Regions from separate parts of the Homo sapiens genome. Here all the other regions are linked to region 3. The links are contacts of gene promoters, found by promoter capture Hi-C in blood cells and fetal thymus (Javierre and others, 2016). All regions are on one chromosome and are shown on one strand. The core of a region is centred on a gene start or on the middle of the fragment in contact, and the rest is flanking DNA. Distances in the headings are between cores, read along the strand shown.

Region 1 (2,700 bases), core at 52-2,551, 1.8 Mb after region 3:
GACATGGAAAGTAGAAGCTGCTCAGAGATGAGTAAACATGCTTTTGACCAACCATGAGAATCAGTGGAAGTTCTGGTTACTTGAGTATCTGTTGTTGTTATTACAAGTGAATTTAAAACAACTCGTTTAACTTGTTAGTTACTGCAGATATAACATACCTTTAGAAAAAGTTCTTGGTGTTAGATCTGGTTTTGAGTTCTGGGCGTATGCTAGTTGTATATGTCACTACCCTGTGTTTTGTAGCAAATAATAATAGCTTCACTAAATTTGAACCCCTAAATTTTTTTTTAATTTCATATGTGTGTAGAATTATCCTTTAAAAAAAAGTCAGCTATTTATACATTTTACTCTTTTGTGTTTCCTGCAGGAAACAGTTTCCTCTTGGTATAGCTGAAGAACATTCTCTATTAATTGCTGACATCAACTGGTATCAGCACTTGCCAACAGGAAATGAACTTGAAAAACACTTTTTTCTTTCAGTTTTGGTTTCAACTGATCTTAAAGTTCAAGCTTTAACAAGATTAAATGTGGTTACCTTATTACTTTTTGAAGGAATGCATGACTATAATAGCAAACATCCAATAAAATTAATACAAACAATTCTTTTTTAACATTTTAGAAAATGAACATACAAATGAAAAGCTAAATAGCTGTAGTAGATATAGTCTAAATAAAGCTAGATTTCAAATCCAGAGGCAAAAATTATTTATATATGAATAAATTGATATAACAATATTAATAATATATAATATATATGAGAGCTTAAAAAGCACTCCCACAACAACTAGTGGAAAAACAGATATTAACATCGTTAACTTTGAGGTTTCTTTGAAATTAATTTCTCTTTGGAGAATAATAAAGTTTTTGGACAAATGATAAGTGAGAGTCCAAAAGGACTAGAAGAAATAACATTGTTCAGTTAGTTGATTGATAATATAAAAACTCTATAACTTGTTAAAATATCTTTGATGTATAGTTATGATTTCTCAACCAAAGTTTTATTTCCCCAGTTGAATGCAATGATAACAGAAAGCAAGAGAAGTGTGAGAACTCTGAAAGAAGAAGTTCAAAAGCTGGATGATCTTTACCAACAAAAAATTAAGGTAAGAACTTTGCCACAGTTTGCGTAGGTTATCAAAAGCTATGTCATGATTGCTTGATGAGTCACATATTCTGACATCAAAATCAAAATCTTTAAGCTATATATATCCTATAATTTGTATCTTGGGTTAGTTTTCTCTGCCAAAGTTTATCGTAAGGAGTCATTTTATTTTGTTCTTTAAAGGACATTTTTCTGGATTAGGGCTGTTTTACCATAGAAAAGGAACATTTACTTTTCCTTTATCTGGTATTTTATACTTGCATATGACTCAGTATCCTTGCAAAACTAAACAGAATCTCTCCTACCTTTTTGTAGAGATTTATTGTTATGTACTGCTAAAGCCTGAACCCCAATAAGGTCTTTTGAATATGTAGTTGCCCACCAAGAGTCATTGTAAACTGACTATCCTGGTCAAATTCCAAAGACTGTTTACGTGCAATCTAGAAGGTGGGTAAAATAAAAAGACTGATTCTTCAACATTCTACTGTCTGACCAGCATTTTACTTAAAGTATTCAGATGACTCTATTCATTACCACTTACACAATTCATGTGAAAATTTTAACTATGCCAATATTTTTTACTTATGTCAACAAAGTATTAGGAATTGAAAACTTTTCTCTTTGCCTGTGTTATATTTAGGACCTATTTGTTTTCTTAAACGGTGTGAAATGTTTAGAAAATATACCACATAATATGATCTAAATGTGAAATATAAGACATTGGTAATCATTTTTCTTTTTTCACACATCCTCCATGACAATGCTTGAGTTTACTCTCTGACGCACTTAAATGAAAGGTTTTATGATACTTAATCTTCACAAACCTTAGAAATGATTAATTTGGGCTACTTTGCCTGTGCATAGTTAATACATCTGTGAAATAAGGACCTAGATAAGGCTTCCTTGAAGCTCATGGGAAAAAATCTTAATTAAAATATTATAAAATTTCCTGTTGTTCAGACTGGAAAATACTGCTGAATGAATCCTATGCAAGCTTTTTGAAAAGGTCACATTTGGTAAATACTTCCAACTCACCAAAAAACTAAAAAACTTCACTACTGAATTCTAGTCAGTTGACCTTGGCGCCCTAAAAACTGAACCAATTTTATTTAGTTTCTGCATCTTTGAGAATAAAGTGACTTTTTAATTTTTTAAAGGAAAAAGTATTTTTTGTTCATAATATAAATACTCATTAGAAACAATAGAGACTCGAGAGAAATGTATAAAATGGGAACTGAAATGTACCTTATAATCCACCATAATCCCATCACTAGAAACAATGGTTAAAGTTTAGGGAGTGTCTTCCAGATATACAAACATATATTTTTTTAATGGTACCAAATTATACATAGTTTTTCATAATCTGTCTTTCTCAAGAAAAGATATCATGGATATCTTTTCATACAAATGTAGAGAGAGCAATCCTTCTATTGTGTTTTTATTTTACATATATACATAGTATATATATATATATATATATATATATATATATAACTTATTTAGCTAGCCCCTTATTAATTTTTTCCCTAAATTTTCAACTGACCAATAATGTTGCTGTGAATATCTTTGTATATCTTTATGTATTTTTCCATTCCTTC
Region 2 (2,700 bases), core at 22-2,521, 1.7 Mb after region 3:
AAAATACCTTCTCTATGTGATCACTTTAAAAACTAAACATGTTCTTCAAAACTCAAGTGATTTCACTACGGACACGAATATAATGGAATGCACCAAAGGGATCTGTATATAGCATTTATTCAAACAGAGTAATTTATCATTAAATATTAGATGTTTCCTTTACCTCTAGAATTGTATCATAATGTTACCTATTGCAATTGTTGCAGAGACTATCTGCAGATGACTACAGCTCAGTAAGCTGAACACTAATGATCTGTGAATTCCCTATGCGTCTTGGCAGCCATATTAATATAGTTCTAAGAAATCTAGGTCTTTTTTTTACTTTTTATTTTAAAATAATTTCAGCCTTTACAACTGACTTATTGGCCATAATAAAACTTCCCCAATTATTTACTAATGTACTTTTTCTGACCCAGGATCAAAGCCAGGATCAAACATTGCATTTAGCTGCCATCCCTCCTAACTCTCCTCCAACCTGGAAAAGTTCCTCGGTCTTTCTTCGTCTTTCATGATTTTGAAACTTTTAAAGGCTACCAATTATTTTATAGGATGTCCCTCAATCTGGGTCTAGTATTTTCTCATGATTAAATTTAGATTACTTATTTTTTGCAAGAGGACCACCAAAGTAATGCCTGCCATGCCCTATCAGTGCAACATATCAGGAGATAAAGGATGTTAAAGAGTCTTTGGTTAAAGTGTTGTCTGCTGAGTTTCACCAGTTTTTCCCTTGTAATTAACAAGTATCTTGGGAGGAGATACTTTAAGACCATGAAAATATCCTGTCTCATCTTTTCATCCACTATTTTGACATCCAATTATTATGGTGTTTGTCAGATGGAAATTCTCTAGATCCATCATTCCATTCATTTATTAACTGGAATTTTACTGTAAGGAAGAGCTGTCCTTTCTCCCCCTTTTATAAACATAGGTATATTTTTGTAAATGTGTACAATCTCATAAGTAATCAAAAGAATGCAAATTAAAATAAAGAAGTGACACTTTTTAAGCTATTAGAGTAACAAAGATCAAAAAGAAGAGAAAAAATGTGCATGCATAGAATGGTTTTCTCATTAATTTGTTATCCTGTCATTTACTCTGAAGAATTTATGGCACTGCTACATGGATAACCACTCAAGTGTAAGATGGCTTGATAGCAATTAAAAGAAGCTTTTCATTAGTAAGTTGTGTTGTAGTTGCTCAGTAACTTAAAATTTTGCTATAAAATGTCCAAATAACAATAAACAGCACATTAAATTCAATCTGATCAATATACCTCAAAATGACCCTAAGCAGCAGGTATTATCATGTCCATTTTATAGATTGGAGACTGGGGCTCGGTTTTGTGAAATGAATACCCCAAAGACTCACAGTTAAATAAGCTTCAGAATCTAAAGTCAAATACAGGTCTGTGTGACTGCGGACTTCAATATTTAAATTTTTTAACTTTGTACGGAAATGTTTCAAGAAATTTTAGACAATGAGCTTGAACACTAGCCTAAATGGTATCCTTTATACAAGGCTAGGAATGATGTGGGAATTGATATTCATAACTGAAGTGTTTCTACTTTGCTATGAAAAAAAGTTAAAAAAAAAAGTGATTTGGTTAAACACAACTGCATACCGAATTCCTAAGTACAGAGAAGTAACTATATTTGTTCTCTTAGAAATTAGCTTTTGACTCTTTATTCACAATATTTATTTTTTTAAAAAAAGCAAAAGTCAGCACCTTAAAATTAAACCTAAGAGACAAATAACCCAAGGAAAAGTGTCTACCCTATCCTCATAAATGCTGACCCATCTTCAAATTTCAGACTAGCTCTTAACTTTTCAGCCCACGGAAAAATTATCTTTTTCTAATAACAAACACAATAATTACTTACAGTTTAGAAGTGGTTGCATACAAGAAATGTCAGATAAAAGAAAACTGCTTTTCGGTGGTAGCAGGTATTTCTGTCCCATTAAAGTAATCACTTTTGTAAAGCTAGAGTTGTTTTCAACAACTCGCAAAAATAAATCCTGTTCTGTAACAGATGTATCCTCTTCCACCAATTGTAATGTCTGATGTTCCATTTCATTCAGAGAAGGCAAATGCTTTGCCATTTCACATAATTCTGACAAACTGCAGGCGTCAAGTGGTAAAGTAATGGGCTTACTACCCTTGTCCTGTTTTTCAAAAAGTGGATAAAGAAAACCACTTTTGAGACCTTCCTGGATCAACTGTAAAGATCCATCCAAAATCAGCTCCCTGATCTGTAAGAGAATTTTAAGTACATTAAAAGAACGTTGACATTAAAAAAGAACATTGACTGTGCTTTGAATATCTGAGTTTATAAACTGAAATCAATATCCTTAACACTTACAGTAAAATAATTCTGTACTACAATGAAAAGAATGTGTGAGCACGCCTTTGAACTGCTGTTTCCCAACTGCAGAGTGAAACAACCCTCACAAATTCACTGACAACTAAATAACCAAATACATGTAAGAAAATATATCCTCAAACATGTATAAGGTAAATTTGATAATCTGAATGTTTCTAGAAGAAAATGGGATTTCTAATCTATAGGGATTGCATGAGGAAGTATCTGCTCTTCATTCCTTTGGGAGGAGAAATACATCCATAACATGCTAAATTATAAAAGGAGGTCTCAGGGCTGCCAACCTTTCAATAGAGGTTGAGTGGTAGCATATTACTCCTAT
Region 3 (2,700 bases), core at 13-2,512:
ACTTTTCCTTAAATGCACAGTCACGTGTATACATTTAGTAATACTTTCCTTAGTGCGTAATTTAACTTTAGAAGTGTAACAGGATGGTTTAAATATTTAAAATTATCAAGGTATCTTTGGCACTGTAATCTTACAGTTATAATACATGAAGATACTATAATCATATCATGTGAAATCGACTGTGAAAACACACACCCGTGGAACGTATATACATAATAAATGGACATAAAATTGTGCTTCCACCAAAGACTTTCATTATTTCCTTTAGTAATTTATAATTATACAGTATGTTATTCCACGCCTGTATCAATTAATTATGCAGAAAATGATTCAACCAAATCCGAACTGTTAAGTCCTACTCATTACAAAACAAAAACTAAAGTCCCTACACCAGACTTGATTTTCAAAGAGCTTCTTAAAACAGCTCTGCCCCATGCCCAATAAAGTGAAAGCTGGAAGCAATTATCAAGAAGAAAAACACACTTTAAGACAATTTTCTTTAACACATGTGGACAGGGAACCGAACGCAACGGGAGGCGGAGTGGCATGATTCCGTAAAAGTGGACGCTGAATGGTAAATTTCCCAACCCCCAACCCAAAACAAAGGAAAACTTTAAACATGTTGCGGTTTTCAATCAAACCAAGTAAAGCCAGAAAGGCTCATCCACTCGCCCCACACACCCGCTCCTCTCCCCGCACAGCTGCTACCGGCGTCGGCCGATACACAGACCCCCAGCCTTTAGGACCCAAAGGGGCCGCTTCCCTCGCCCCTACTTCGGCCGTAGGGGCAAAAATAAACCTCTCCTCCCCGTCGCCGGGCGGTCCACACGACCCCAAAGACAAGGGGTGGGGAGTGTCCCCACGCCCCTGGAACCTCAGGTCGGACTTGGGCGGGACCCGGCAGGTCTGGACAGGGCAGAGACCGAGTCAGGGGCGAGCAGGTAGCGCGGGGAACGAGACAAGCCCGCCGGGCGATCCGGGGGAGGGGAGAAGTTTCTTCCCAACTTCCCGACTCGGGCCCGCGGGGGCGGGGAACCGCGGCGGCGGCGGCGGCGGCGGCTCCGGGCGCTGGGGCCTAGCCCTGTCCGGGCAGAGGTGGAACCCTCCGCCCGCGGGGCCCCACCGGGTCCTTACCTGTCCTCCGGCCGCGCTCTCATGAGTCGCTGCTACCGCAGCTCGAGGTGGCGGAGGGCGGAGGCGAGGCCCGCGGGCCCTCTCCCTCCTCCACCTCCTCGTCCCGGGGCGCCCGGCGGCAGCAACGACGGCAGAGCCGGCCCGGGACGCGTTACTTCAGGAGGAGGGAGTTCCCGGGCTCCCCACGCCTCGGCCTCACTCTCCACCTCCTCCGCCCCCCCCCCCCGGCCCCGCCCCCTGACTTCTAGCGGGGGCGGGGGCTGCGGGTACCTGCGCGCGCCGCCGTCCGCTCACCGGAACTCGGGCCACGCCGGCCCGGCTCCGGGGCCCCCAGCCTTCCGGCGCCTACGCCCCCGTCAGGTCCCCTCCGCGGGCTCCGGGCCGCTTTGCTGTGGTCAGGATAGGCGACCGGTCCGTGTCACTTCTCCCGACCCAACATGGCGGCGGGGTCCGGGGCGGATTCCCGGGGGCGGTGCAGGCCGAGGGGGCGTGAGGAGGAGGTGCTTCCCTGCCCGGAGAGCAGGCCCGCGGCGTCCCTTCCCACCCGCGAACCCACCGACGCTCGGCTGCCGCGGAGATTGAATGGAGCGCTCCGATTCTGCCCCTCTGCCTTTCTCTGTTCCTTGGCCCAGCTCTCAGTAGTGGCCAGGGCTTTGGGGCTTGCTTTTGTGGGGGAGGACGGGGTTGAGTTTTTTTGGTTGGCTGTTTGCTTCTCAGCGCTACGCTTCCGCACCCTTTGTCGTTGGTAGTAAAATCTCAAGCCCAACCGCGTGAGCCGGGGGCGTTACTCACACCCTCATCACCATCCTGATCGCCGTCCAAAAAACGTTCACGTCTTGCCTCCTTCCGAGGCAGGGATCCTGTCCCTGCCCCCAGGAGCTTCCTGTTGACTGTAGGTCGAACCAGCCTTGCCGGGAGGGGAACCGAAGCTGAGTTCTGTTTGGCGACTATCCCAGTCATGGTGGCTTTGGCTTATGTTGGGACAGCGTTTTTCTATATGATGCTGGCGGCAGCCCAGTGAGGGAAGTGCAACAAGTATGGTTCTCCTGCTTGTCAACTGTGGAAACAGCGACCCTGAAAGTGGAGGAGCCACAGCTGGAATCGTGTCCGTCTGAATACACGCACCTTTCCTATGAGCCTTGTAAAGCCAGTCGTTGAAGAAGGGGGAGGACCCGGAAGGATGGGGTGGGGGCGTAAAGATGAAGGTTAATCAAGGTCCTCATGGACTGAACCTTGAGGCCCTTCTGCTGCAGTCACTTTTGCCCTATCAGACTTTTAGAGTAACTTCCTCTCTTTATTTCCTCTTTGGTGGGGTTATCAGAATTATTTTGTGACTATTGGTTTCCTTTGCGGTTTTTAGTGAAATTCAGAATCATCTTCGACGGATAGGAAATAGTGCAATCATATGTGTCAGTATTCCGGTATTCTAGGAACTTAAGGAAATGCATATAAGGGTTTGAACATTTTTTTCTTCAGCTCACTAAATGAACGAAAGGTAGGCGTAGGCGTTAAAGAGACACATAATGTGGAACGATGCTGTATTTTCTTAGCTACTAAAACTTCATT

Evidence for each region. Contacts are between HindIII fragments. The CHiCAGO score rates a contact against its expected background, and 5 or more counts as called.
Region 1: a fragment that was not itself captured here is called in contact with the fragment with the promoter of YES1 in region 3 in 1 of 17 cell types (naive CD8 T cells); the score reaches 5.2 in naive CD8 T cells.
Region 2: a contact is called between a fragment that was not itself captured here and the fragment with the promoter of YES1 in region 3, in 1 of 17 cell types (total CD4 T cells). The highest score is 5.4, in total CD4 T cells.

What each region holds. Positions count from the first base shown.
Region 1 is chr18:2,605,405-2,608,104 of GRCh38, forward strand. NDC80 (NDC80 kinetochore complex component) reads left to right here. Exons shown (of 17, transcript NM_006101.3): 14 at 1,011-1,103. Among named protein-coding and RNA genes, the nearest start is that of NDC80, 35 kb to the left of the region's middle. The HindIII fragment of the contact is 1,586 bases long and covers 509-2,094 here.
Region 2 is chr18:2,552,789-2,555,488 of GRCh38, forward strand. It overlaps METTL4 (methyltransferase 4, N6-adenosine), which reads right to left. Exons shown (of 9, transcript NM_022840.5): 4 at 1,881-2,250. It overlaps LOC124904380 (small nucleolar RNA U109), which reads left to right and starts at 2,570; the gene lies at 2,570-2,700. The HindIII fragment of the contact is 212 bases long and covers 1,166-1,377 here.
Region 3 is chr18:810,980-813,679 of GRCh38, forward strand. It overlaps YES1 (YES proto-oncogene 1, Src family tyrosine kinase), which reads right to left and starts at 1,263. Exons shown (of 12, transcript NM_005433.4): 1 at 1,135-1,263. RefSeq lists silencers at 870-959, 1,030-1,089, 1,140-1,649 and enhancers at 1,381-1,923, 1,924-2,465. The HindIII fragment of the contact is 10,737 bases long and covers 1-2,700 here.